Linked DNA regions of Homo sapiens: region 1 is linked to region 2. The links are contacts of gene promoters, found by promoter capture Hi-C in human tissues and cell types (Jung and others, 2019). All regions are on one chromosome and are shown on one strand. The core of a region is centred on a gene start or on the middle of the fragment in contact, and the rest is flanking DNA. Distances in the headings are between cores, read along the strand shown. Region 1 overlaps PKD2L2 (polycystin 2 like 2, transient receptor potential cation channel). Region 2 holds the start of WNT8A (Wnt family member 8A).

Region 1 (3,528 bases), core at 144-2,643, 190 kb before region 2:
CTGTTATTAATAGTATATAGTAAAAAAATTATCCCTGCCTCGTAAAACTAAGAATTGAAAAATAGCCAGAAGCTATTGGAGCTTTCCTCCCCGCAGTGTAAGGACTAAAAGTGGCTGTGGTTTTTCCATTGTTGTCACTTATAAATTACATAATAATGTAAAGAAAAATTTTGTCTTATATCTCACAGGGGCTTCGAAACATAAGTTGCATTACAGAAAGGAAGTAGAAATTACAACCACACTTCAGGAATTGTTACTCTACTTTATTTTTTTAATAAACCTATGTATATGTAAGTACACAGATATAAAGATGCTGTTTGTTTGAACTAAGAAGTTAAAATGTGGAGATGAAAAATAAAACATACAAACTTCAAAACCACAGGCTGTCAGGCTACTAAAACTCAAAATACAGTGACACGTTTAAACATAATCTTAAATTCATTTAGATTCATTTCATTTAGAAATTGACTATTTTCAGTTCTTAAGGGGCAAAATTTTACATCGCAAATGTAAGAAGCTTCCATAGTCAATACTGACTGAATTAGAATTATTCCTTTCATTTGGCAGTTCTGTCTTGAGCATAATTCATCCCTTGGGTTGGCAACTGCAATTTGATTTTGTTTAGAGTCATATAGACACATCAGCTGAGTTTCATAAATCAAAGTACAAATGAGGCCAAAGTTCATCTTGGTGTCTGCCATTAGCTTGGTTCTTTTCACTGACCTATTGCAGTTAAAAAAATAGTTTGTGCTGAGTCAATGCAAATAATTAAGGAGGACTGGGAAAACATCTCAACCTGCATTCCTCCTACCTGTGGGTCAATAGCATTGGCTTAATATGCAAAGAGGAGTATTAAAGAGCATTTGTCGATGGCACCCAACATAACAGTAGATGAAAGCTCACTGGCAGTATTGTCTCATGTTGGTATGTGCTACACACTGGCAATTGTATAGCAATTAAGTAATTAATTGGTGTTGTAGGGGTGAGTTTGAGTCTGCTCTTGATTGAAAAGACAACTATAAAATTAGCCAGGTGTGGTGGCACACCCCTGTAGTCCTAGCTACTGAGAAGGCTGAGGTGGAGGATTGCTTGAGCACAGGAGGTCGAGGCTGCAGTGAACTGTGATTGCAACGACTGCACTTCAGCCTGGGTGACAGGCTGAGACCCTGTCCCAAGGAAAAAAAAAAAAAAGATAACTGTAGGCAACTTTATAAATTAAGATATCTTAGACTGCTTTATAAAAGCTTGGTTATGAAAACTACATGCTTACTACAGAACATTTGGAAAATGTAAAAATGTAAGTAAAAAGATCATTTATAATCCCATTATTCAGAGATTTTTAAAGAACACTTTTTTTAATATAATACAGCAACCTGAATCTCCATTTATAATGTGATTTTTTTTCTTTTTTTTTTCTTTTTTGAGACAGTCTCGCTCTGTCACCCAGGCTGGAGTACAGTGGCTCACTGCAACCTCCACCTCCTGAGTTCAAGCGATTCTCCTGCCTCAGCCTCCGGAGTAGCTGGGATTACAGGCCTGTGCCACCACGCCCGGCTAATTTTGTATGTTTTTAGTAGAGACAGGGTTTTCACCATGTTGGTCAGTCTGGTCTCGAACTCCTGATCTCAGGTGATCCACCCACCTCAGCCTCCCAAAGTTCTGGGATTATGGGTGCAACACCACGCCCCGCCACTAGTTAATATTTTTAAAAACTCATCATGTGCCAAAACACAGTTTAAAATGTTCTGTGTGCATCATCTCACTTCTCACAACAAAACTAGGGGGTAAGAGATACTATCCCTGTGATGGGACTCACACCCTTATCTGTCTGAATTCAAAGTCCATGTAACCTTAACCACTCACCATACTATATTGCCTTACTCTCATGTAGAGAAAAAGTCAACTTGCAGAATAGTGTGTATAATGTGTCCTCATTTTTGTAAAGATAAAATTATTTTCTTTATAAATGTGTATGCATAAAGAAATGTCTGAAGAATATTTGCCAGACTAATTCTAGAAACCACATCCTACTTTTTATATTTCTAGTTTAGATTTTTTAAATTATTACTTTTATAATTAGATTAATAAAGTTTAATTTTCAAAATTGAGAAAAAAATGTAACATTTTTAATCCTGATAAGCTGAGTTTTTAAATGTAAATTATTAAACAAAAAATTATTCTCCTTAGTGACTTTTGGGATGGTAAACCCACATATGTATTACTTAAACAAGGTTATGTCATCTCTATTTTTGGACACTTCTGTGCCTGGTGAAGAAAGAACCAACTTTAAGTCCATTCGCAGCATAACTGATTTTTGGAAGGTAAAGTATCTTGTGACTGTGGATGAAGTAGATTTAGGTAGTCCATGAACCCTTGGCATACACAGTGGGCACTCAATGAATATCTTTTGAAGAAATGAATAAAAATAAATGTCATTTCTTTAAACTATTAGAAACAACCAACCAGTAAGTGTTTTTGAGAGCCTGTGTTCTCAGTTTGATACTATTCTTGTAATTTTTTAAAAAATTTTTTTGGCCAGGCACGGTGGCTCATGCCTGTAATCCCAGTACTTTGGGAGGCCAAGGCGGGTGGATCACCTGAGGTCAGGAGTTCAAGACCAGCCTGACCAACTTGGTGAAACCTCGTCTCTACTAAAAAATACAAACATTAGCCAGGCATGGTGACAGCCACCTGTAATCCCGGGAGGTGGAGGTTACAGTGAGCCAAGATCATGCCATTGCACTCCAGCCTGGGCAACAGAGCTAGGCTCCATCTCAAAAAAAAAATTTTTTTTGATTTTTTTAGACATTCTCATTTCATTTGTTAAATAGAAGACTTGCATCTACTATGTGAGGGTTAGGATCTAGTCTATAATTGTGTATAGTGAAATTTACTTTTAAAAATTTCTTTAATTGCCCAGAAAGTGTAATATATGTGGTTTTGGCATAAAACCTTTACTGTTTATATGTGTTACAGTAAGGTACAGTATATAATAAAATTTATATATAAGAATATAATTTCATGGTGTTTTTACTTACGTAAGGGAATCATTCCTTCAGCAGTGGAATAGACTTGCTTTTTCCATTACATTTAACATAGCAACATGCTCACATTATGAAGAAAGAACAGTTAAGGGGACAGCAGTTTCAGCTATCCCAGGTCACAAAACCTGGCATATGCACATTGGGGCATATAAGGACAAGGCAGAGAACGCTTCCAGTGGTGATGACAATTTAGTTGCATTTTGAAGCATGAATCAGGGATGGGTATTTTAGGAAGAAGGAACAATATGTTCTATAAGTAATTCTACATGTGGAGCTATGTTTGGTATTGTGAGCATATGGAAGATGAGGTGGAAAAGACCAAATTATGAATTGGACAGAGTTCATATCATGAATGCTGTGCAGGAATTTGAAACTTATCAAGGAGACACGGTCATTTCCTGGAAGAGGGCAAGTGTGAGATGAGGGCTAAATGATCCTAGACGGTTGGTTTAGGCTAGGTGAAATAGGAAACAATAATAAAAGA
Region 2 (3,615 bases), core at 224-2,723:
AAGAGTGAAACTCTGCCTCAAAAAATAAAATAAAATAAGGCTGGGTATGGTGGCTCACGCCTGTAATCCCAGCACTTTGGGAGGCCGAGGCAGGTGGATCACGAGATTAAGAGATCGAGACCATCCCGGCCAACATGGTGAAACCCGTCTCTACTAAAAATACAAAAATTAGCTGGGCATGGTGGCGCACACCTGTAATCCCAGCTACTCCGGAGGCTGAGGCAGGAGAATTGCTCGATCCCAGGAAGTGGAGGTTGCAGTGAGCCGAGATCATGCCACTGCACTCCAGCCTGGCGACAGAGTGAGACTCCATCTCAAAATAAATAAATAAATAAATAAATAAATAAATAAATAAATAAATAAAATAAAATAAAAGACAGATTCCCACCTAAGGAGCTGAAGTCCTAGTAACAAAGTAGTATCAGAAAGAAAGGCATCAGGGCCACGCCCAGTGGCTCATGCCTATAATCCCAGCATTTTGGGAGGCCAAGGTGGGCAGATCACTTGAGCCCAGGAGTTCAAGACCAGGCTGGCCAACTGGCGAAACCCCTTCTCTACTAAAAATACAAAATTTAGCTGGGTGTGGTGGCTGGCACCTGTAGTCTCAGATACTTGGGAGGCTGAGGTAGGAGAATCACTTGAACCCAGGAGGCAGAGGTTGTAGTGAGCTGAGATTGCACCACTGCACTCCAGCCTGGGCGACAGAGCGAGAGACTCTGTCTCAAAAAAAAAAAAAAAAGAGAAAGGCATCAGTCTTCCCAAATATAACCCTGGGTGGCCCTAAGGTTGGTTCTCAGATATATAAAAAATCAACTAACTGGAGTTGTAACCCTCAGATATAAAAGGATAGATTTGCTAGGAATTAAGGAAATTTCCCAGCAGTTGCTAGAATGTGGTGGAAGGGACTGTTGCAGAGATGGACTCTGAAGTGTTCCTGCTCCATAGTCCCACAGCTCCATCACCTCACAGCCTTGAAGGAAGTGGTAGGGATGGCGCACTCACTGGTTTAGGTAAATGAGTAGGAAGCAGCCCCAGATGGAGTTGCTTTATGATTATTAACACCTTGGGGAGGATGGCAGGACAGAGAGTGGGCTCTCACTGACAGATGAGGACACTGTAGCTCCAAGAATAGGTGACCTGCCTTCAGGGTTAAGGACCCAGCCTGCTCTGGCCTACATGATTCTGAGAAATGGGCCAAAGAAGCAGGAAGAGACAAAATTGACATATAGAAGAAAGAAATCTCACGTATAGGAGAAAAGCAGCCTCCTTCTCATTCTGGGAGGGAAGAAGGGCTGGAGGGGCTGGGCAGGGCGGGGCTTTTGGCGAAAACTGAGTCCCTCCTCCCAGATCCCCCACTGGGCCGGTGGCTCCTGCAGCCCTGCCAGTTAGGAACAAATGAGAAGAGCTGCTGATTTCCTCCCTTGGACATTCAGAATTTTCTCACATAAATACTGAGGAAGACCCTGCCCTCTCCTCACTTCTCTGGACTTGGCCCTGAGCTGGACCTGGTCCACTGGGGTAGGCAGGGCGATGGGGAACCTGTTTATGCTCTGGGCAGCTCTGGGCATATGCTGTGCTGCATTCAGTGCCTCTGCCTGGTAAGTCCTTTCCCAACCCTCACTCCTTGCCAAGGAGGCCCCCATTGTCTCATCCCCATTCACCTCTGCCTCACTTTTTCTCTTTTTGGTAGGTCAGTGAACAATTTCCTGATAACAGGTCCCAAGGTAGGATGATCTCCAGCTTCTGTTTTTACCCACTGAGGGCCCTAAGGGGACTCTTCTGGAGAAAAGAGGGGCGGGGACAGTGCCAGAGCCCCTCACCCAGAGGAACCCATGGTTGATTCTTAATGGAGAGCTGGCCCATCTGAGTCCTGCCTGCTCCCCCAACCACAGATGACCCATACCGGGCAGAAGCTCACAGCCCTTTTCCCTTTGCCAGGCCTATCTGACCTACACGACTAGTGTGGCCTTGGGTGCCCAGAGTGGCATCGAGGAGTGCAAGTTCCAGTTTGCTTGGGAACGCTGGAACTGCCCTGAAAATGCTCTTCAGCTCTCCACCCACAACAGGCTGAGAAGTGGTAAGTTTGTGTGGGACTCACCTGTACAAGGGGTATATATGTGAATGGAGTGGGGCTTGCAGTATGTGTATATGTGTGACATGTATTGCACAGTGAAATAAAAATGCTGCCAGTGACCTGCTGACCTGCCATTTCCTTGCTGTGTGGCCTTGAGTAAATTACCTACCCTCTCTCAGCCCCAGATTTGTCATTTGGGTCAGTAAGGCCAGTTCTGTTTAGTTCATCAGAAGTATCCTATGGGTTGAATGAGGTGGGTATGAGGTGTCTCTATGTATGAGATAAATGTAGGAAATTACTCTTTTTTTTTTTTCTTTTTTTGAGACGGAGTCTCACTCTGTTGCCCAGGCTGGAGTGCAATGGCGCAATCTCGGCTTACCGCAACTTCCGCCTCCGGAGTTCAAGTGATTCTCCTGCCTCAGCCTCCCGAGTAGCTGGGATTACAGGCATGCAACATGCCTGGCTAATTTTTTGTATTTTTAGTAGAGATGGGGTTTCACCATGTTGGCCAGGCTGGTCTCAAACTCCTGACCTCAGGTGATCCACCCACCTCAGCCTCCAAAAGTGCTGGGATTACAGGCGTAAGCCACCGTGCCCAGCGGAAATTACTCTATTTTTTAAATGCATGCCTATATTTGTGCGTTTGTACACACTGATCTTGCACTGAGTTGCATGAAATAAAAATGGGGAAAGGGCTGTGTGTTTGCAGCTCCTGAGGAAGTTTCACATGGCTAACTGCCATAAAATCTCAACAGAAAAGCTGAGACGTCACATTGAGTTGTGCCTCAGGTGGGGTGTGTGTCTATGTGTGTGTATGGGTGTGCACGTGCACCCATTTGTAACTGTGTGCCGTAGTTTGCATGTCATTTTTGAAGATAACATTCACCTGAGAATAGTTAGGGGAACGAGAGTAAAGAAGACGGAGAAAGTGGCTAAGCACGTGTTGGAACCATGCCTATAATCCCAGCACTTTGGAAGGCTAAGGCAGGAGGATCGCTTGAGTTCAGGAGTTCGAGACCAGCCTGGGCAACATAGCAAGACCTCGTCTCTACTAAAAATAAAAGTAAAAATATTAGCCGGCATGGTAGCATGTGCCTGTAGTCCCAGAGACCTGGAAGGCTGAGTTGGGAGGATTTCTGGAACCCAGGAGTTCAAGGATATAGTGAGCTATGATCACACCACTACACTCCTGCCTGGGTGACAGAGCAAGACCTTGTCTCAAAAAAAAAAAAAAAAAAAAAAGATGAGGTTCAAAAGAAATGTCTCCCCATGGGGTATACAGATAGAATAGGGAGTATGTAGAAATAAAATGTGACAATGTTTGTAAAGAGTTTAGTAAGATAAGAGTTCAGTAGGTGGCAGTCAGGATGATTATGATTATTACATGGCCCAAACTTCCCAGTCAGAAGCAGCAAAGGTCCTCCTCTCTCTCCTAGGCCAGCATCAAGCCCTGAGTCTCACTGCCTAAAGACTAGCAGCAGTGGCTAGTGGACAGAGGTCTAGGCTGGACTCTAAGAGGGCAAGGTCCCGATCCCAACACC

Evidence for each region. Contacts are between HindIII fragments. The study calls those that stand out against the background at their distance.
Region 1: a contact is called between a fragment that was not itself captured here and the fragment with the promoter of WNT8A in region 2, in 3 of the 25 tissues and cell types used here (aorta, bladder and hippocampus).

What each region holds. Positions count from the first base shown.
Region 1 is chr5:137,890,293-137,893,820 of GRCh38, forward strand. It overlaps PKD2L2 (polycystin 2 like 2, transient receptor potential cation channel), which reads left to right. Exons shown (of 15, transcript NM_001300921.2): 2 at 189-290; 3 at 2,188-2,321. Among named protein-coding and RNA genes, the nearest start is that of PKD2L2, 2.6 kb to the left of the region's middle. The HindIII fragment of the contact is 6,072 bases long and covers 1-3,528 here.
Region 2 is chr5:138,082,560-138,086,174 of GRCh38, forward strand. It overlaps WNT8A (Wnt family member 8A), which reads left to right and starts at 1,474. Exons shown (of 5, transcript NM_001300939.2): 1 at 1,474-1,724; 2 at 1,939-2,077. The coding sequence starts at 1,569. The HindIII fragment of the contact is 19,757 bases long and covers 1-3,615 here.